7 separate regions of the Homo sapiens genome follow, and regions 1, 2, 3, 4, 5 and 7 are each linked to region 6. The links are contacts of gene promoters, found by promoter capture Hi-C in blood cells and fetal thymus (Javierre and others, 2016). All regions are on one chromosome and are shown on one strand. Each heading gives the region's core, a stretch centred on a gene start or on the middle of the fragment in contact. The rest is flanking DNA. Distances are from core to core; before and after follow the strand shown. Region 1 holds the start of LOC105376374 (a long non-coding RNA gene). Region 2 holds the start of LINC00705 (long intergenic non-protein coding RNA 705). Region 3 overlaps MANCR (mitotically associated long non coding RNA). Region 4 has its middle 42 kb from the start of AKR1E2. Region 5 has its middle 13 kb from the start of AKR1E2. Region 6 holds the start of PITRM1 (pitrilysin metallopeptidase 1). Region 7 overlaps AKR1E2 (aldo-keto reductase family 1 member E2).

What was found. The method cuts DNA at HindIII sites, captures the fragments that hold promoters and counts their contacts. A CHiCAGO score of 5 or more calls a contact.
Region 1: a contact is called between a fragment that was not itself captured here and the fragment with the promoter of PITRM1 in region 6, in 1 of 17 cell types (monocytes). The highest score is 9.1, in monocytes.
Region 2: a contact is called between a fragment that was not itself captured here and the fragment with the promoter of PITRM1 in region 6, in 7 of 17 cell types (monocytes, naive CD4 T cells, fetal thymus and 4 more). The highest score is 7.3, in monocytes.
Region 3: a fragment that was not itself captured here is called in contact with the fragment with the promoter of PITRM1 in region 6 in 1 of 17 cell types (naive B cells); the score reaches 5.5 in naive B cells.
Region 4: a contact is called between a fragment that was not itself captured here and the fragment with the promoter of PITRM1 in region 6, in 1 of 17 cell types (M2 macrophages). The highest score is 6.3, in M2 macrophages.
Region 5: a contact is called between a fragment that was not itself captured here and the fragment with the promoter of PITRM1 in region 6, in 8 of 17 cell types (M0 macrophages, monocytes, M2 macrophages and 5 more). The highest score is 11.4, in M0 macrophages.
Region 7: a fragment that was not itself captured here is called in contact with the fragment with the promoter of PITRM1 in region 6 in 1 of 17 cell types (total CD4 T cells); the score reaches 5.6 in total CD4 T cells.

The regions. Positions count from the first base shown.
Region 1 is chr10:4,762,209-4,765,113 of GRCh38, reverse strand. It overlaps LOC105376375 (a long non-coding RNA gene), which reads left to right. Exons shown (of 3, transcript XR_930599.2): 2 at 600-809. LOC105376374 (a long non-coding RNA gene) reads left to right here and starts at 1,070. Exons shown (of 3, transcript XR_930598.3): 1 at 1,070-1,148; 2 at 2,581-2,786. The HindIII fragment of the contact is 617 bases long and covers 1,167-1,783 here.
Region 2 is chr10:4,655,976-4,659,035 of GRCh38, reverse strand. It overlaps MANCR (mitotically associated long non coding RNA), which reads left to right. Exons shown (of 4, transcript NR_024475.1): 3 at 1,311-1,435. It overlaps LINC00705 (long intergenic non-protein coding RNA 705), which reads right to left and starts at 2,880. Exons shown (of 3, transcript NR_015425.1): 1 at 2,716-2,880. The HindIII fragment of the contact is 1,745 bases long and covers 442-2,186 here.
Region 3 is chr10:4,673,520-4,676,476 of GRCh38, reverse strand. All of the region lies in intron 1 of MANCR (mitotically associated long non coding RNA), which reads left to right. The region is part of intron 1 of LOC105376373 (a long non-coding RNA gene); the gene reads right to left. Among named protein-coding and RNA genes, the nearest start is that of MANCR, 3.1 kb to the left of the region's middle. The HindIII fragment of the contact is 1,609 bases long and covers 705-2,313 here.
Region 4 is chr10:4,782,237-4,785,208 of GRCh38, reverse strand. No RefSeq gene overlaps it. Among named protein-coding and RNA genes, the nearest start is that of AKR1E2, 42 kb to the left of the region's middle. The HindIII fragment of the contact is 3,177 bases long and covers 1-2,972 here.
Region 5 is chr10:4,811,262-4,814,236 of GRCh38, reverse strand. No RefSeq gene overlaps it. Among named protein-coding and RNA genes, the nearest start is that of AKR1E2, 13 kb to the left of the region's middle. The HindIII fragment of the contact is 3,258 bases long and covers 1-2,913 here.
Region 6 is chr10:3,171,445-3,174,144 of GRCh38, reverse strand. It overlaps PITRM1 (pitrilysin metallopeptidase 1), which reads left to right and starts at 1,363. Exons shown (of 27, transcript NM_014889.4): 1 at 1,363-1,428. The coding sequence starts at 1,373. RefSeq lists an enhancer at 1-350 and silencers at 549-708, 999-1,838. The HindIII fragment of the contact is 12,209 bases long and covers 1-2,700 here.
Region 7 is chr10:4,835,447-4,838,372 of GRCh38, reverse strand. AKR1E2 (aldo-keto reductase family 1 member E2) reads right to left here. Exons shown (of 10, transcript NM_001040177.3): 4 at 2,564-2,698; 5 at 792-914. Among named protein-coding and RNA genes, the nearest start is that of AKR1E2, 11 kb to the right of the region's middle. The HindIII fragment of the contact is 786 bases long and covers 1,046-1,831 here.

The DNA of each region.
Region 1 (2,905 bases), core at 226-2,725, 1.6 Mb before region 6:
AAATGTTGCCTACTAATGATGACTTACTAATTATCACTTTGTTGTCTTAGTAACTACCTACCCTTGCTGAAGAGTTGACAGATTTTCAAATCTACAGATTGTGACATATAAGAATGTGTGAAACCTGGTGGGTGAGCCATCTTAGGCCTCAGTTTCTCCATGTGAAATGGGAGGAACTGGGCTGAACGAGATCTAGGTTGTCCTTCCATTCTGAGTGTGTTCTCTCAAGATAATGCTTGTGTTAATAAGGACTGCAGGGCTCAGTCAGTCAATGGGTTATGTTCCTTAAACCTTATCCAAAACATCCCGGGTGTTATGTGTTTCAAAATTCAGATTTTTTACATTTCTTTTGGATTTTATAATGGTAATACATTACAAAACAGTATATTATATAATCCCCCCAGCAAGGTATGGGGCAGCTCCATGTAATTAAGCTCATTATGGATTCTGTGGCCACTGGTATGAAATTGAGGGCGGTGACAATCAGGGACTCTAAATAGGTTGTCATTAGCTCAGGTCAGTTACTGTGGCTAAACACATTACGGACAATCTTTTTTTCTTTTTTTTCCTATTTGTTTTTACTGCATTTTGGATTTCAGAATGGTGGATAAAGATTGCGAATTTGCACAGCTATAAAGCTTACTAATTAAAGACTACAAACACAAAGAGAGCAAGCCTTGTGATGACTGCACAATAACGAGGATTCAGATACAACGTGGTCGCCACCTGACGCCCACCTCCACAAAAAGCCATTCTCAAAAGGAGAGAGACATTCATATCCAGAAGAGGGAGTCGGCTGTAGGGTAGAGGTATGAAATTCTCAGTCAGTTTTTACTTTGTTGGTTCCAGTATGATTTTCATTATCCTTACTTTTGTGTTTTTTATGGCAATGTAAACATACAAACTAGTGGGAAACAATGCGGTCTTTTATTAATTTGCAGTAACCCACATTGTAAGCAATGCAATGATTCAGACCTTAGTTATCAAGAGGTTTTATTATAGAACCACTAGTAACTCATAGACTCTTCCTGTTATGTGAAATAAATGAAGACCAGCCAACTAAGAAAGGCAAAGGCTATGTATTCTGAGCTCATCTGGATCAGAGGAGTCAGCACTGTCATTTGTGTTTGGCAGAGACTGAAAGGCAGGTAAGGGGCTGTGAAGCTTTATAGTGGAAAAAAGGGAAGGCTCAGTGTGCCCTGACTAGAGGCTGTTGGCTTGGGGAGCTGGAGGCAGGCTACCTAGAATTGGAGCATCCTATGGGATTGGCTAGGAGAGCATATTTGGTTTTCTCTGTTTGTTACTTAGTTGGGAGTGAGGGCAAAATTTAGAGAAGCTGTCAGTTATTAATCAAGGGGTGGTCATTTTGGGCAGATTGCTCAAAAGTGGAGTTTCTGGATGAGAGTACTGTTTTCTTTTTTTAGAGACAGGGTGTCTCTCTCACCCACCCTGGAGTGCAGTGAATGATCATAGCTCACTGCAGTCTGGAACTCCTGGGCTTAAGTGATCCTACTGCCTCAATGTCCCACAGTTTTGGGATTATAGGGGTGAGCCACTGCATCCGGCCCAGAGTATTATTTTCACATATGGTCTAGTTGTCAGCCTTTTGCGTAGTTGCCCTCTCAGTGTATGGCAGCTCCAGTGGTAGTTACAGAGTTTCTAAAAAGGAGAGACTCACAGGGGTAAATTTATGAATGGAGAATCTCAGGAAATTGTTATGACCCTGCATTTGCATAGAAAACTCCATCGTTTTTCTTGGGTTATTTGTTTACATGAAGAAGCTTCTGAGCAGGACCCACTAGACACAAGAGGTTGCAGGAGCCTGCGCTGCATCCTGCAGTCCACAGCTGCAGAGAATTTTTGTGTTAAATTCATCTCATTCTCATCAAGGAGCTGACATTAGCTTTCTAATTGTGATCAAACAGCAAAAAGACTTTAAGAACAGTCACGAATTTCAAATCTTAAATAAAATGTTCTCTTTTCATGCAAATCTCCCTCCTAATGAAGTATGCTACCAAATAATTTGCTTTGCAGTTCCCAGGGAAGTTATTGAGAAAATGATGAATGGAAAGAAGGGGGAAAGAATAGAAAGATTGGAAAGAGAGATGGGCCAAAGAGCTTCTGAGTAACTTGAACAAAATCAAATACCAGGAAAATTAATGATTAGTCAAACTAATCGATTTATAAGATGAATGGTCCACTCAGAATAAAAATAATGATATTAAATGGCAGAATAACTGCATTTGAGGTTATTGGAAGGAAAGAAAATCTCCACAGTGACTGGAGTTAATGGCCTGCTCCTGCCCTGCTATCAACTTCCTTCATTCAGAATATATATATTTTCTCTCTCTCTCTTCCTCCCATGGAATATTAATATCTATATGACTATTGGATTTGCTCACAAATCATAATAAAGCAAAATTATGATTTGAATATTACTCCCATATTTTGAGTACTCCCCAAAGTGCCTTTTGACTGATTAGAGTGATTTTTCATTTAGTGCATGAAGATACTGAGTTTAAAATGAAGGCTGTATACATAGCCCCTAAATTCATAATATCATTTTGCATTTTTATGAAGATGTTCGTCTGAAGATTTCAAAGCCCACTGCTGATTTAAGGTCATTCACATTCAGCCATGAAGCTGCTCTGAAGACACAGGAACTGCATAGCTCCCTACTGGGAATGTCAAGGGCTGTGAAAGGTCTAAGGTTTTATCCTACTTGCAACCAACAAGCTATGCAGCCACAGTTTTATGGATGCTGTCAAAAGACATGACACTCCTGGGTAAGAGACGAAAGACTTTACCACTTGTGGTGTAGTAGCCAGCTGGAGCATCTTGTGTTTTGAGTTAGTGCCAGTTGTCCCCTAAGTCCCACAGGTAAGGATGCAAGTTTTCCCAGATG
Region 2 (3,060 bases), core at 65-2,564, 1.5 Mb before region 6:
AGAAAACAAAGAAGCCGTTATTGACAAGTGCTTTCCAGGCCAAAGGCAAGTGCCAGGGAGTATAGTGACAGTGGATTTGCTGCCAAACTGATGATTTTTTCTTGTTTTCTTTTCAGCCCTATTTGTCCTGGGCTCGGAATGTTGATGCAGCTATTTCTATTTGGTTATGGGTAAGGAAACGCTGCATTTATCACTGTGCCTACGTTTTCCTTCAAAGAGGCACGTGTAACTGTGTTCAATTGCAACTGAGAGCGTATTTTAAAAAGGAATTTGGCTTCAATGTCATTAACTGACCTTAAATAAATTGCTTGTGAGATTTTACAATATTAAACTTAGCTCAGAAGAAATGCTGAAATTAGTAAATAATGATTTTTAAGAACTTATATATGTCATCTTTTAAAAAACCTGCTACTTCAAATAACTTCAAAGTGAGGAAAAGCTTTTATCAGCTTTAGAGTTAAAATGCAGATGTTAATCGCAGGTTAGGATCTTGATAATTTCTAAAAAGACAAATGCAGCATTATTTGTAAAAGTACATACAGTCGTGTACAGCATAACAACGTTTTGTTCAACGAAGGACCACATATACCATGGTGATCCCTCAAGATTATAATGGAGCTGGCAAACTCCTGCCAACTCATCAGGCAGTCGCCACTGTAAGACTGTAGCAAAATGCATTAGTCCTGTGTTCGTGGTGATGCTTGTGTACACAGACTTACTGCACTGCCAGTCATATAAAAATACAGCACATACAATAAGGTATAGCACATAATACCTGACAATGATAATAAATGATTAGGTTACTAGTTTAATATGCTATAGTTTTTATTGTTATTTTAGATTGTACTCTTTATGTTAATATATTATTAAAAGGTCAGTTGTGAAACAGCTTCAGGCACTTCCTTCAGGAGCTATCCAGAAAAAGGCATTGTCATCATAGGAGATGCCAGCTTAATGCGTGACGTTGCCCCTGAAGACCTTCCAATGGGGCAAGAAATGTAGGTGGAAGACAGTGATAATGATCCTGACCCCGTGTAGGTGTAGGCTATTGTGTGGTTTGTGTTTTAGTTTTTAACAAAAAAGTTTAAAAATTAAAAAATTAAACAATATAAGAGCGCTTATAGAATACGGATATAAAAAGAGACAATATTTTTGTTCAGCTATACAGTGGATTTGTGTTTTCAGTGGAGTGTAATTACAAGAGTCAGAAAGTTAAAACAAAGTGAAAAGTTTATACTGTAAAAAAAGTTATAGTGGGCTAAGGTTAATTCATTATTGATGAGAGAAATTTTTTTGTACATTTTGTGTAGTCTAAGTGTACAGTGCTTGTAAAGTCTGCAGTAGCATACAGTAATGTCCAAGGCTTTCACATCCACTCACCACTCGCTCACTGACCCAGCCAGAGCAACTTCCAGTCCTGAAAGCTGCATTCATGGTGAGTGTCCTACACAGGTGCATCATTTTTATCTTTTATACCATATTTTTACTGTATCTTTTCTATGTTTAGATATGTAAATACCATTGTGTTACAATTGCCTACAGTATTCAGGACAATAACAGGCTGTACATGTTTGTTGCCTAGCAGCAGTAGGTGTGTAGTAGGCTCTTCTGTCTAGTTTTGTGAAAGTTCACACTATGATGTTTGCATAACAACAAAATCACCTATGGATGCGTTTCTCAGAATGTATCCCCATTGTTAAACGATGCATGGCTCTGTGTGTGTATGTGCAGGACTCTGTGTGTGTGGTATATGCATACCACATACGCACACATCCACACTATACTATGCACTCTACATATATACAACTACATAGGCAAATATAAAGCTGCATGTGCATAAATACACAAACAAACACACATACATATGTATAAAAGGTAATGTATTGATATTAATACTGACAATGTGTACTAAGCATATATTTATATACCCTTAAATGTATATTATTTTAATACATACTATATTATGTTATATACTAATACACTTTTTTAAAACTGAAAGAAATCTCGTTGCCAATTTGTGTTTCTAAATATGATGTCCATATTTTTTCTGATTTTATTACTATAGCTGTGATCACGTCATGTAACTTAATTTTGATGATGTTTCTCACAGTATAGTTTGAGGGTATCCAGCCTCAGATTATCTGAGGATGTAGCTCAAGATTTCCTAATTTTGCAAACAGCAAGCTTCCCAGGAGATTCTTAGATTCCTGCTAACAAAAGGCGGAGACTCACTGGACAGTTACTGAAGATAGACAGTAGGGGGCGGAAGGGCCCACGCTTCTTTGATATTGGTGGCTTTGGTTTTTCAGTGACGGGGGACACTTTGACTTCAGGTATGTTCTGCATTTAGAATTTTCAAATGAACGTTTCTTGTCTGTTCCCTTCTTTTTTCTGCCTCCAAACATAATGTCTATCATTGTAAAAGTAATAAAAAATCACTGAACAAAATTTGGAAAATACCAAATGAATAACAATAGAAATAAAGTAAAAAAAGAACCACTCAAATTCCCATCATCAAGAAATAAACATTCTGATAATATTTAATTTTATTTTCCTATATATATTGTGTGTGTGTATATATGTATGTGTATATATATACATATATTCAAAATGTATTATAACACAAAATGTATAAAATATATAATAGTATAAACAAAATTATATTATATATGTCATTTTCATGTCATATGTCAGATATAGCATATTAATACATACCCAGTTTTCTAAAATGCTGATCTCTTTGAAATATTCAATTATCAATTGTGTTTCTTTCCTCACTGAAGTTCCTTTTTACGACTTTTGGTAGTGAAGAGATAAAGTTCATTACAAAACATGCCAGGCTTAAGCAATTTTCCAAAGGGATTAACGAATTGCAGTGGCCGCAGGCTATGTAAAAATTTTTAAAAGGTGGTGTCTCTCATATTCTTCAGCATAACTTGGGTCACAGAAACCCAGGCATAAAAATTCATTGTGAACTCATATTCTACCATGGCCTGACACTGGTAAGTTATTTTGTTGCAAAAGCCTTAAGCAATTTGAGATGTCGAAGCACGTTTTCAA
Region 3 (2,957 bases), core at 260-2,759, 1.5 Mb before region 6:
CCAAATTCATGTTCTCCCGTGTGCAAAATACATTTACCCATGTCCCCCAAATTCTTAACCCATTTAAGCGTTAACTCTAAAAAATGTCACATTAATATCAACTCAAAAAGTTACAAATCTCATCATTGAAATGATCTAAATTAGGTATGGGTGAGACTCTTAGTTTTCATCCATACTGGGGCAAAGTCCCTTCATCCACAGAACTGTAAAACTAGAAAACAAATTATCTGCTTCCAAAACACAATGGTGGAACGTATGAGGTTGTCTCTATTTTGCCTTCATATTCTGAAGAATACATTTGTTGGATGTAGAATTGTGGGTTGGCAGTTTCTTTCCTTGCATTACCTTATAATATTTTTCAACTGTCTTCTCACATCTAAAATTTCTGACAAGAAAAAGATATTTGAAACATTTTTTGCATGTATGTAATATGCCATTTTTGTCTGGCTTGTGAAAACATTCTTTCTTTGGCTTTAAATACTTTGACTATTACATACTTGCTCATTTTAATGATGTTTGCTCACACTTGGAATTTACTGAGCTTCTATAATCTGTAAATTTATCTTTTACCTAATTGAAAAAGTTCAGTTTTTTTTTTTCAATAATTGTGTGTCTGTATGTCCCATTTTCTTTCTCTTCTGCTGTGGAACTGCAGTTACATGGATATTGGAACTTCAGAGATTATTTCACAGGTCCATGAAGCTTTGTTCACTTTGCTTATCAATCTTGGTATTGTTCAGATTTTAAAAAGTTCTGTTGATCTCTCTGACCCCTTTCTTTGTCAATTCTATTATTCTGTGAAGCCCAATTAGTGTGTGCTTACTGCATACATTGTATTTTTCCCTTCTTGCATTTCTTGTTTGTTTTGTTTTGTTTGTTTGTTTTTGTTTGAGACAGCATCTCACTCTGTCACCCAGACTGGATTGCAGTGGTGCAATCTTGGCTCACTGCAGCCTCCACCTCCCAGGTTCAAGCGATTTACCTGCCTCAGCCTCCCAAGTAGCTGGGATTACAGGTGCATGCCATCACACCCAGCTATTTTTGTATTTTTTGTAGAGATGGGGTTTCACAATGTTGGCCAGGCTGGTCTCGAACTGTTGACCTCAGGTGATTAGCCCACCTCAGCCTCCCAAAGTGATGGGATTACAGGTGTGAGCCACTGCACCTGGCTGATTCTTGCATTTCTGTTTGAGACTTTTTCCTAGTTTCTATTTGCTGATGAAACTATTTGTATTTTGATTATTAAGAGCATATTTCTTTTTACACTACTGAGTGTAGTTAAAATAGTTAAAATAATATCCTATGTGCTTATTTCAACATATGTTCATTTGGGTATTGTTTTCCATAGGTTGTCTTTTCTCTTGAGAATGAATGAAATATCCATTCTTTCTTCACCTATTGACTGGATTTGTATTGTTTCTTGAATACTCTGAAGATGTAGAGACTGAATCCTGTTATAATCCTTAATAGAGTATTGATTTTCTAAATTTTAGCGGACAATTATTTTAGACTCATGAACATTGTGTTTTGAACACAGCTCAAAATTCATTCCAAAGTGCTTTGATCCTGCCTTGTGTATGCATGGTTTAAGGTTGGTTAGTTAATTGGCTGAAATTTGTGCATGGGATCTGGGCTCCCCGTCTCTGGCCATCTCCTTTCTGGAATATCTCCCTCACTTTCTGGTGGAAATGATTATTTCAAACTCTGTTCTCCAGTTCTTTAGAACAGAAAAAGTATGGGTTTTCTATCAAGGATTTACTTATTAATGCTGACTGCAATCTGCATTGAGGCTAAAATAATTGAGAACACAGGAAAATTACCCCATGCCATTCTTTCTTCCAAATTGATTCCCTCCTATAATCTTTCAGCCTCTGCTCAATCTGCACTGCCTCCAGGCTACTATTCAAAAAATTTATCCAGGTTTCGAGTGGTTATTTGTGGGGAAATTGGCCTGGCAGGAGCATCTTTGGCCATGCCTGAAGTGGAACACATACAAAATGCTTTTTTGCATTGTCTTTGGCTGAAGCCACTAATATTTCAACTTCCCAAAATATGTCTCTTCTTCATGTATTAACTTGGGATTTTCACAATTCTTTTATAATATTAATTTGGACTACAAATTTGTGCGAAGATCGAAGTAGAATTTAATTTGTTGTAAAAAGCATTTTCTCCCCCAACTGAGTCCCATTCAGATGGCTACTTCACTTGGAGTATTTTTGTCCCTATATGGGGGCATTTTCTCTTATTATTAATAGTAGCTTTTCAATAGTCCCCAGATTTTGCAAGTATCTACTTGAAATTCAAGTATAAGCTTAAGACAGTAACTAGTCTCTTATCTCCTCTTCTCTTATGGGTATTTAAACCTCAACCATTTCACATTCTTCTTTTCATGCTGAGAAAATTATCTTACACCCAGTAAATATGCAGAATCTTTAAAGGACTGAAAAAAATAGGGAAATGTTTAACGTAGTTATCAAGGTAGGTACCTCACACAAGAAACTGCTTGATGATGAACATTTAAGTTTCAAAGCAGGAAAGATAGCCCTTGTGATGAAGGCGATTAGAACGTGATACAAATGACTCTTAGTTTTTCAGTGGACCAGAGCAACAGTTACTGGTTAGTTCAACAGGTGAGACTCAGTCACAAAGAGTTTACGGATCTCGCTGAAAATAATGAAGACAGGTACCATGGCAGAATCACTACCCTATACACAACTGACTCTCTGAGATGAGTGCCTAAACCACATGGCAACCAAATAGGTATTATAATTAGTTTGTGAGAAAGTGGTAATAGTACTTGTTGCAAATCTTGATGTTGTTTTATTAAACAAAACTAAAATATAATTTTATTTAATATTAAAATAATGTTGCAAATATCAATTGATGTAAAATTTATTTGCAGAATCAAAATTCCTATAAGGAAGTATTATAACACTAGGAAGAAAATTATTTTAAGA
Region 4 (2,972 bases), core at 160-2,659, 1.6 Mb before region 6:
CACGCCCTCATGCCCCTGGGTATTAGAATGTCGGGTGCATTAGTATGTTAGTGTATTGGTATCATTGTTGCTAATCCAGCCAGCCCTTCCTTATTTTGCCGTATCATTGCTGTTCTATTTGCACAGAGTGCTGGTGCTACTTTGCATGTTGAGCGTCGACAAGAAAATGACACAAAGCAACTTGCCAGCCATAACTTTACACTTAGTTCCATACATATTTGGAGTTAGCCGATGGCGTTTCAGCAAGCACATATTTTATAGGATGCCTTTAATCATAAGCCACAGCTTTTAATTTTTGTTCCTCTTGCCATGTTATAGATATGGCTGATGACATCTTCCTCCTTGTGGTAGATAAAGAAAAAGCACAAGAAAAATCATTTCCAGGCTGTGGTCTCACAGTGACTTGTGGAGCAAGCCTATAAATAAGGTACTGTGGATAATAAGCATGCTGTTTTCGTATTTTTTAAATCTTCCTTTTAAAATGCATTTTAGAAGGAATAGACCAAGCATGCATGAAATTTATGTAAGTGCTGTTGGCAGAAACATTACATATTTCCCCCTTTCAAATTGAAATTTTGAAACATTAAAACATGGTATTTATGACATAAAGTGAAATGTCTCACTCTATCCAAACATGTATTTCTCAGGCTTTCTATATTTATATAAAAAATAATGTTTCCCTTAACATTTTGCTAGTTTTCTCTCGTCATTAATTATATAAAGAGATCTAATTTAATATTTGCCAATGTTTTATTCACAAATGTGCTTCGTTGAAGAAGTAAATGGTTTAAATATTTTTATGATTTTATTTGGTCCAAACAGGTTTAGACCACCGTTTACCCAAATAGATTTGCTTTTGAAAACTCCAAATGGCAAAAAAGTTATATTTTTAGTATCAACATTTTGGATGTTTAGGGAAAGTTACTATTATATTGATATTGGTATAAATCGCAAATTTTCCAGCAGTCATTTTTAAAACCAGGATTTATTCAGACAGCAAGTAGTAAATTTATTTGAGATGATTATTTATACAAATAAAATATCTCTATTTGTTAAAACCTTAGGTACTGATTCTTATGAAGATGAGAGTCAATAACTCAGAAATAGCCAAATAATATTTGAAGGGAATTGACCTGCCAGTGGGGCCTCACATAATGTTAATCTTGGTTGTATATTAAAATAATGACAGCAATGATAGCTAACATTTCACGAGTAATTACTAACCACAAGGCACTGTAAGTTATGCCTTATATATATTATCTCATTTAATCCTCATAAGCAACTTATGAGGTAGATAATACTATTACCATTTTGAAAGCAGATAAAACTGAGGCTTTACAGATACTACAGATATTGTCCACTGTCATTCCACCAGGAAGTATCAGAAGGAAGTCTCTAACTCTATAACCTGTGGTCTTAGCCACTGTTCTACACAGTCAATGGTGAACAGAGGGGTGGGGTTACAAGACTATGGTACCTGCATGGATCCTAGAGGCTATAAATACATATATTTGCCTGGACAAAACTAACAACACGACAACCTGTAGTTGTTATTGTAACACTTTTCAATTTCAGATCAGGATGTGAGGTCTGACAGGTATCAGTAGCTAAGGGAACAGGCTGGACAGACTCTCTGATACCCTGGCTATCTTACACATTTTTGGGAATAATGATTGTTGTAACTGTAGGTTAAATGTGCTGAATTACAATGAACCAGTCACAACATTACCTTTTCCAAGTCATTCACGAAAGATGTGATGTTAGGTCAGATTGCACATATTTCTTTGGGGCATTCCTAGAATATTGTCCTTATGAAATTCCAATGCTGTATTTAAGAATACATTAAAGAAAAAGAGAGAGCTACCAATAGACTGATGAAGGAGAACCCATTTTGCTGGTGTTATCTGGACGTTGAGCTAAACAGGATGCAGGCAGTTGTATTCTAAAGTCATAACTATAAAACATATAATTTTTGAAATCTAAGCAAAGGCTATATAAATATAATTACTTTCCCTAAACTACTTATTGTCTTATTTCTAACTGTAGTAAGCAATTACCTCTCCAGCTAATATTTACGGAATCCATTTCAATAAGAAACAAGGAAAAAAGTAGAAGATTAATTTTTTTAGCCATACTTAACCTCTCAGTCACATTTTAACATGTCTTCACTGCTCCAAAATGTGGCACATATGCACTTGGAAATAGAAATTGAAGTTTGACTTGGTGGATATGGTCCATATATTAAAAGATACGGTCAGAAAAGGCATTTCTTGAGCTGTATCATTAACTTACTGTGAAGTATAGGGTGTAGACAAATGACTGCTAACGGAGCAGCCTACCTGTGTAACGGAACTTCAGTTTGGTCTGAAAACAATGGTCAGTGTTTGAATGTTGGGGTTTCACACAGGAGAGATGAATACAGTGGCTTTCCAGGGGCCGTTAATATGTGGAGTGGAGAAGCAGTCTAGGAATGGCCTTCTCACCAGGGAAGAGAGAACAGGAGTGTATAACTGTTCATCAACATCAGAACTGAAAGTTTTTGGTAAGGTATTACTTGCTGGTCATCTTCCAGACCCATTTCCATTACCTATTGGCTTTGTGTGGCTGTTTAGATAATGCCACATGAGATGCTCAGAATTTTGGACTGAGAAACCTGCTGATCAGCCAGATATATCCAGCGATCACTGGATTTTCTAAATAATTTCTGTTGTTCACTCTTCATTTCTCTACCTGGCAATCTCAGCAACTACCAACTCAAAGAGGAAGAAGACGTTCATTCCCATAATACCCTTCTTACTTCTCTAGGAAGCTGGTCTTGAATATCCTCAACTGCACAGAATTAGATCATATGACCCACTTAGCCACTTTTAAGGCCAGACATTCCCCCAGAAGAAGGGCCTGGGAACCATGCTCTCCAGCTGCTTCTGACTAGGGTGGTAAGACACACTAGCAGCTCGGTTTCATGTCAAGTG
Region 5 (2,975 bases), core at 35-2,534, 1.6 Mb before region 6:
CTTGTCTCAAACTCCTGACCTCAAGTGATCCACCTGCCTTGGCCTCCCAAAGTGCTGGGATTTCAGGCGTGAGCCACTGTGCCCGGCTGGTTTACCGTATTTTTTAATACACTAATATGTGTTAGCCTCAAAGACCTAGTTTCTTCTATAAAGTTTATAAACCAGGCTTCATGATTTTAGGGGAGATGACTTTTTAGAATATCTAAAAGGAGATGTTTCATTTTTTAAACCAAAATTTAGAAGCAGAAGCTACCTGGCACTAGTGTCCTTTTATCCATCATGAAAGTCTAGTCCCTTTGGTAGGGGACAAATGGATGCTTGTGGCTCAAGAGAAAGTAAACCCTGAGAAAGAGTTACTGAGTTAGAGTATGGTTTCAGATAAAAACGGTGATTAACTTCAGAAGATTTTTTTTATAATTATGGAACTCCAGACTAAACATTCTTAGGGTTTCTGGTCCAAAAGAGCTTCATTAAAAAAATATATATATATATACTTGGACATTCCACTGATCGCCGCTGTTTCAGGTGGGGTCATTTTAAGCTGTTAGTCATCTCTGGACCAGTCGCTGTGATCATTCCAAATGATTTCCCCCTTGAATTTCAATGACATCTATGCTGGGCTCAAGGGCTCATGCCTGTAATGCCAGCACTTTGAGAGGCCAAGGTGGGTTGATCACTTGAGACCAGGAGTTTGAGACCAGCCTGGCCAACGTGGCAAAATCCTGTCTCTACTAAAAATACAAAAAAAAAAAAATTAGCTGGGCACGTTGGCTCATGCCTGTAATCCCAGCTACTCTGGAGACTGAAGCACGAGAATTGCTTGAACCCAGGAGGCAGAGGTTACAATGAACCGAGATGACACCACTGCACTCCAGCCTGGGCAACAGAGTAAGACTGTCAAAAAAAAAAAAAAAAAGAAGAAGTCAATGACATTTGGCTTATGTATGCAACTCATACAGTGCTGACTTTAAACAGCCAGTACAGTAGGAGAAAGGGAACGACCCCCAAGAACTAGAGAAGAATCATCATCGCATAGGAGTTAAGCACATAAGCCCCATGTGTAACGGACCAGGTCAGGTGCTTGCTGAGTCACCAGTGATGCATCTGGAGATGTGTGACTCCCTGCAGCATCAAAGCAACTCCTGGGAAGTCTCACGGAGGCAGAAGAGAGACTCAGTTATAAATGCAAATGCTAAATCTGGCCGGCTGTACTGCCTATGTGAAGACCATATTAAAATAACCAGGCAACTTTTTTGATGTTAATTTAATAATAACAGCTATGCAAAATACTTAAAAACCAACTGTTTCAATTCAAGCAAGTCCCACTTCCACCCTAGGGGTGGGGTATTCTTTTTAACCCGACTTTCATGATGGATAAACCAAGGCACAGAGAAGTTCAGTAACTTTTCCAGGACTCCAGTCTCGTAAGTGACAGGGAGGACGGACTCCTGGGTCCACCCTGGCATAGAAGCATACTGTGTTATCTGTGTAACGGCCCGCCTGCCGGTGCTGCAAGCTCCCGAGGATGGGAAATGTGTGTTACCTTTCCACCGGAGGCCCAGCACCTTCATCACTGCTGCTTTCCTAGCACAGTGTGTTTGTTGGTGTGGAGGAGTGTTTAGAAGGCAGGAATTTGCTCTTTTTTTTTTACATAGCACTGCCCTGGAGACAGGGACCAGATCTTCAAGAGGGAACATTATTTATTCATCATCGATTATGGTTGCAGTGTGAAACAGAAAGAATACAGACACAAAATACACAGTACCTGCTCTCACAGGCCTCACATCTTCTTAAGATGACAGAGTGATATTAATTTTAAGATAAAATTCTTATTTAAAGGCTGGCTTCCATATTAATCCTAAATGAGTGTGGGCTTCATATTGGAGTTTCAAAATACAGGAATCAAAAGCTGATAGAACTGAAAAGGGGAAATAAGTCTGCAATTCTAGCTAGAGATTTCAACACAGTAATGGATAGAATCAGTGCCTAGACAATCTGTGGAAAGACAGAAGAGCTGGACAACTCTACCCTGCCCGGGACATTAGTGACCACACCCAATTGAAGCAAATACACATTCTGCTCACAGGCATTTGGGACATTCACCAAGAGAGAAGAGAACACATTCTGGGCCATAAAATGAATGTGTGTTGGAAAGGATGGAAATTCTGCCACATTCGCACCCCCAGCTGCAAAGCCTCTCTCTGGGTGCAGATGGAGAGAACAAGCCTGCTGTTGGGGTGACAGGCAGCACCTGTGTGCAATTGTACAGGCCTGCACTAAACAATCTCAGAGTGTGCAGGAGAGGAGAAGGTGGTGAGACATGTGGAAGGGGAGCCATCAGCAGGACACAACTCCTTGCAGCAACTGTGGGGCTCAAGAGAGGAGTAACAGCCAGGAATATTCACTGGTTCCTGGCTTGGGTAATGGTGTGGGTTATGATTTAATTCACTAATCATAAAAGTGCAAGGCAAGAGGAAAGATTTGGAATGAGTCTGTGCATCTGTGTCATTGTGTGTGTGTCCATGAGTTTGTGTGTGTTTGTGTGTGTCTCTGTGTGTCTGAGGGTGTCTGTGTGTCTGTGCATGTGTTGGTGTGTGTGTGTATGTGTGTGTCTGTATTTCTGTGCATGTCTGTGTATGAATGTGTGTGTCTGAGTGTGAGTGCATTTGTGTGTGTATAAGTGTGTGTGATTAGTTCAGATTTTCTGTCTTATCTATTGGAGAGAATACCAATTTGAACACAAGTGAGATAGCTCTCCTAGATAAATGGATGTCCAGGTCAAGCGCATTCAGGCGGTGGACAGGCCCAAAGTTGTGAGTGGAGAGTGGGGAGGAAGAAGTGATGGGAGAGGGTCCTGAACACCTCCATTAACAAGGACACTGATGGATGGGCAGAAGCTGAGACCATGAAGCTTGTACTGCAGAACTAGGAAAGGAGAACCCAGTGGAAGGAGTTTGGCAGGCATTACTGGTCGT
Region 6 (2,700 bases), core at 114-2,613:
TGTATTCGTGATACAAGGGGAAAAAAAGAGGGAGAAGGTGAAGGGAGGAAGGAAGAGAGGCTCTGAGAAACCCGGAAGGTCAGACTTGGTGCGGACTTCCTCCAAGGGCTACCCCACCCTCTCCAAGCGTGGCTAATCCCAGGGCCCCTTCTGGCCCACAGTGCAGAACCACCCACTCCTACGGGGGCCTCCTTCAGCCTCTCTGGGGGTTCCCAGAAGGGCCCTTGGGCACTTGGGCAATGTCAGGGGGCTCAGGTGCATCTTCCTAGACACGAAACGAAGAGGAAAGCGGAGGCAGCAGCGGGGGCCACAGGCTCCCATGCAGCAGCTCGGAGCTGTGCTGTGCTTCGCTGGCGGCCATCCGTGATACGTGTGACACCGTGGGGCCCTGGCCCTGGGACCTGCCATGCAGCCTTGAGATCTCATCCAAGAAGCCCCCAGACCCCAAGGTTCAGGCCTGGCGGGGCAGCAGAACGCCTTTGGAGCTCAGCTCAGCCCTACAAACAGGACCAACGCCCACACCAAGGCCAGAGAGGGCTACCAAGTTTCACCTGGCCCAGCTTCCGGCAGCCCCCAACCAGGCCACTACCCTCACCTGAACACCGCGGTCCATCACCAAGCCCCACCCACTTCTGCCAGCCCTGCCCCCACAAGGACCCACCTCTCGCATGCAAGCCCCGCCCCCAAGGCCCAGCTCACCTGCAGCCCCGCCCCACCAGGCTCCACCCCATCGCCTGCAAGCCCCATCCCCAAGGCCCAGCTCACTTGCATCCCCGCCCACTAGGCTCCACCCTGTCACCTGCAAGCCCCGCCCCCAAGGCTCAGCTCACTTGCAATCCCCTCTCCCACTGGTCTCCACTCCTCACCTGCAAAGAGCCACCCCTCGCTAAGCCCCTCCCATCACTTGCACAGCCCCACCCAACACAGCACGCCATTCCAGGAGCCCCTCTTTTCACCAGCGCAGCCCCGCCCTTCACCAGGCCCCACTTCATCTGCATACACACGCCTCTCGCCACGCCCCACTTCTCGCCTGCCCACTTCCCCCTCCTATCATCTGTCCACATCCTGCTGCTGGCCGAACCCCGCCCCTTTCGGCAAGACGGCCCCGCCCCTTTCTACCCGTACCACGCCCCTCGCCTTGCCCGCCTCCTTCGGCACGTCGGCCCCGCCCCTCCCGCCCATCTCCGTCCGCACCGCCCTCCCGCCCGTCCCAGAGCAGTGGAGGCCTACCCTTTTCACCTACAGCCTATCGCAGAGGACGTCGCTGTTCGCGTTGACCAATAGGAGTGGTAGCTGTCACGGCAAGCCCCGCCCCGCGCCCTGCGTCGGGTTAAGAGGGGGTTCCTCGCCAGCCAGGTGCTCGTCATGCGCAATGTGGCGCTGCGGCGGGCGGCAGGGCCTGTGTGTGCTGAGGCGGCTGAGCGGCGGGTGAGACGCTGCGACGGGAGGCGCTCGGCGCGCTGGTACCCGGGAGGGGAGGGTCCAGGGCAGGCCGGAGGCGTAGGGGTCCTCGTCCCTGCGCCCGGGGCTGGCAGCTCCCCAAGCTGTGGGCGTCCCGCACCCCGAGCCCTTCCTGGAGCTCCCGCATCCGAGGCTCCGAGGCCGGAGGACCTCGGAGCTCCTTCCTACTCCCAGGGGCGATGCCCCGGGCTGGGGGCCGGGCCTGCCCGCGGCGCTCCCGGCGGGGCCCTCCATTAGCGTGGGCTTTAACGGGGGTAGTAAATGGGGTCGGCATTTGCGGTTCTCGCTGACAGCTTTGCTCCTAGTTCATTTTTGTTGGGAGGCCGAGTCCTTAAGAGACCCGAGGCGCCCACAGCCCATACTTAAAGTCTCGCTGTGTTCAGAGAACTGACGCCTCCCGGAATTGAACTGTTTTGTTTTTTTAATGACTCAATTTATGGGGAAAAAAATGACGAAGCAGTTTAGTGTTCATGGTAATCCACGAGCCCGTGTTTAATATAAGGTAATAGTTCAGCGCTGCCGGCCCAGGCCGGGAGGCACGGGGCGTCCGTGGCATGAGTTCGGCCTGGCCTTACCGCTCAGGAGTTTCCTATCATGTCCTTGATAAGTAACTTCTTAAAACGCTTCTGTCCCATAATTCTGAAATTTGCTAAATCAGTAAGCAAATGTTGGTTATAGCATATCTTCATAATATTGCCAGTGACTGAATAGGTTTTTTCTTCCTGTACATATTATCTTTAAAATAAATATTTCGGTGGGATACATTAATGTAGAAAATCCCATACGACATATAATACAATTGGAGAGAATAATAATTACGTGTTTTTTAAGAGCAGGGATCTTGCTCTGTTTCCCAGGCTGGTTTGATCCCCCTCCTCAGCCTCTCGCATTGCGGGGTTACAGGTGTGAGCCATCTCATTCAGGTGAGAATAATTATTAGAAATAGGTTGGGCGCGGTGGCTCACACCTGTAATCCCAGCATGTTGGGAGGCCAAGGCGGGCAGACCACTTGAGGTCAGGAGTTCAAGACCAGCCTGGCCGACATGGTGAAACTGTCTCTACTAAAAATACAAAAATTAGCTGGGCGTAGTAGTGAGCACTTGTAGTCCCAGCCACTCAGGAGGCTGAGACAGAATTGCTTGAACCCGGGAGGTGGAGGTTGCAGTGAGTCGAGATTGCACCGCTGCACTCCAGCCTGGGCAACAGAGTGAGATCTGTCTCAAAAAAGAAAATTAGTGT
Region 7 (2,926 bases), core at 189-2,688, 1.7 Mb before region 6:
CTACAATCACATGTACAGAAACACAGTGCTGTGTGAAAGAGGCGAGCACAGAGGGGTTTATGTTGCATTATTATTTTATTTTACCTGTGTAAAGTTCAGACGTGAATCCCAGCTGCTGGGAATGGGAATGATGCTGTGCTCGGCAGGGGTTACAGGGGCACTGGACGTGCTGTTTACTGAGCTGGATGCTAGTCCCAGAGCTATGCTCAGTTTATGAGAATTTATACAGTTCCATTTTCACATGTGCACTTCTACTCTTCAATAAAAAGCTTAAGTACTGTATAAATGATCTTTGAACATACAAAGCTAGTCTAGAAAATACAATAGTTATTTCCCCACAAGTCTTTTCTCTGCATTAAAAAAACGAAGTGCCTGCATCACCTTCAGCAGCCTGTGAGCCTCGCGTGAAGCCATCTAGTCATCCACTCTTTCTTGCTGCAGTCTGCAGGCTGGGAAGAGGTAGAGGGGAGGCCCATGTTCCTGGATAAGGGTGAGGCACCTGCCAGGACCCTGACTGCTTCTGAGTACACCTGGTGACCTGCCTGCACTGCACATGGAGGGCCAAGCACCAGCTCATGCCCTGCCTGCCAACAGTACCATCTACCCAGATGCACCTTCAAGAAAGCCACTTGCCTAGCTGCTGCCTTTAATCACCATTCTGAGTGCTGCCAGAGGAGAACAGGCCTGTTTTGTGCTTCACCCATTCTTCCATTTCCAGAAGAGCCCTGTGGAGGTGGCAGCTGGGGGACCAGCCACACAGGTTAAACTCTCTGATGCTTCCATCGGCTTACCTGGTTGGTTAGTGGCTTGAACCTCAACCCAGGCTTATTCAAAAGCCTCTCAAGCTGTTCATGGTTGAAGTTTGACACCCCGATGTTCTTCACCAGCCCGGTGATCACCAGGTCCTCCATGGCCTATAAGAGAACGACTCTGCTGGGTGTGAAGCTTCTGTCTACTGCACTGACAATCTACGTCCCTCAGCAGTTCTGTATGGTATTCTAAAACTGGTTGGACCCAATATTTTTACAATATTTTACTTGAAGCTTCAAAAGCATTTCTGCACTCAAGGTCTGATTTCAGTCCCATCTTTTCTGGCTAGAGGATGCTGGGCAAGTTGCATGGCCTCACTTGGCCCCAATTTTCTCAGCTTCAGGACAGGTCTACATGGCCTGTGCCACGGGGATGTTTAGGGGTTATGTGGAATCACAGGAAGTGTCAGCTAAGGCTGGCGTCCAGTACTCGACACATGTGAGCTCTTCTTGTTCCTATTCCTCCTGATGTCTGGCAAGCATGTCTGCTGCGGATTTTATTTGTTCACCTTTCTTTCCACTGAGACACTGACCTTCTTAAGCACACGGATACATCACCATTCTCCTATCCCACCTTCTCCACTTACTATTTTAAGACACTTTAGGGCAGAGCAACCTAAAGCTCTGAGCTGGTCACTGACCAGCAAGCCAGGCTGCCCCTGAGCTTCAGGAAGAGCATAGCTTCGTGCCAGGGTCCGTAGTCAGCAGCAAGTCCTGAGTGACCAATGGGCCAACACGCAGCAGTTAGTTACTGCCTCAACTCTGCAACAATCACCGGAACCTCGCTGGTGCTACATGAGCACCCTAGAGTTTAACCCAAATCTTTTAGGACCTAAAACATTGTGACAGAAAGAGTTGAGGCCCATGGGCCCTGGTCCTGACATCTCAGATACCTTAGGTCAGTCTTTGTCTTCTATTGATGGGGGGAGCCTAGCCTGGGACTCCTCCCTGTCCGAGGGTTCCCTCTGGCCTCCTCCCTGGAGAGCTTCACCCAGCAAGCTCTGTCCTAACCTCAGCAAGCTTAAGCTTAAGCTTACTTTCTTCTTGGGCCTCAAATGTGATGTCCCATCCCACATGATGGTTAGCAAGACTGTAAGACCACACGTGCTCGGTCAGCCATGCTGGAGCCCAAGCCTGAGACCCACCCCAGCCTGTGGGTCAACTTCCAGGAACCTCTCAAATCCACCACCCCCTTAATTTCCTGCTCAAGTCTTTACTGCAAGCCCCTGCAGTAAAGGGCTGTTTTTGGTCTGAACCCTGGAAATGGGCTGACACTTGGTAACCTTCCCCGACACTGGTCTCACCTCCCCAGCCTGAGCTTCCATGCTGCCAACTTTATCATTCTGAAATGCTTGAGAGAAAAAGGAACTATAAAACATTAACAGTGGTTACTGCTGGGTGCCAGGAAAATAAAATTTTTAATGTTAGTTTAATGCAGAAGAACTCTCCTGTATTTTCTGAAATAAATATGGTTTTTAATAAAAAAATAAATAAATATTTGAGAAAAAAAGTGAGGTCTATAATGAGCTACCCCTCAAATGTGTCAAGAGAACTGCACCATACCAAACCAAAGGTAACAAGAAAGTCACTGAGGTCTCTGAGTTCTTCGGGTATTGATTCCTTTTTTGCTCCACAAACCCCACATCTCAGGTAGACAACCTTGATGTCTTTGAACACAAGCAGCTCAGGGCTCACTGCATCCTGGGTGGAGACCCACACAGGATGAGGCTGCCTGGTGGTGTGGCTCAGCTCACCTCCCACGTGTCCAGGAAGTCCGTGTCACTGGGAATAACCATGTTGCTCTCGTCCAGAGGCAAGTCCTGCACTCGAGGATGTGAGAGGCAGAAGGAAAGTTCACTGCAGCTCATGATCCATTCTGGATGAGGAGGCTGCGAAGAAGGAGAGTTGAGATGTGTGAAAACAAAACAAAACAAAACAAAAAAAACCATGTGTCAGGAGACCTGCATCCAAGCCACAGCCCTGTCACTAAGCAACCCCAGCCTGGCCATGTGACCAGGCCCAGTCTTCACCTTTCTAAGAAAAGATGAATGGCTGGTGGACTGGATGGCTGGCAAAGCCTCTGCCAGCCTGATGTTCACTGTTCATCTCTCACAAGA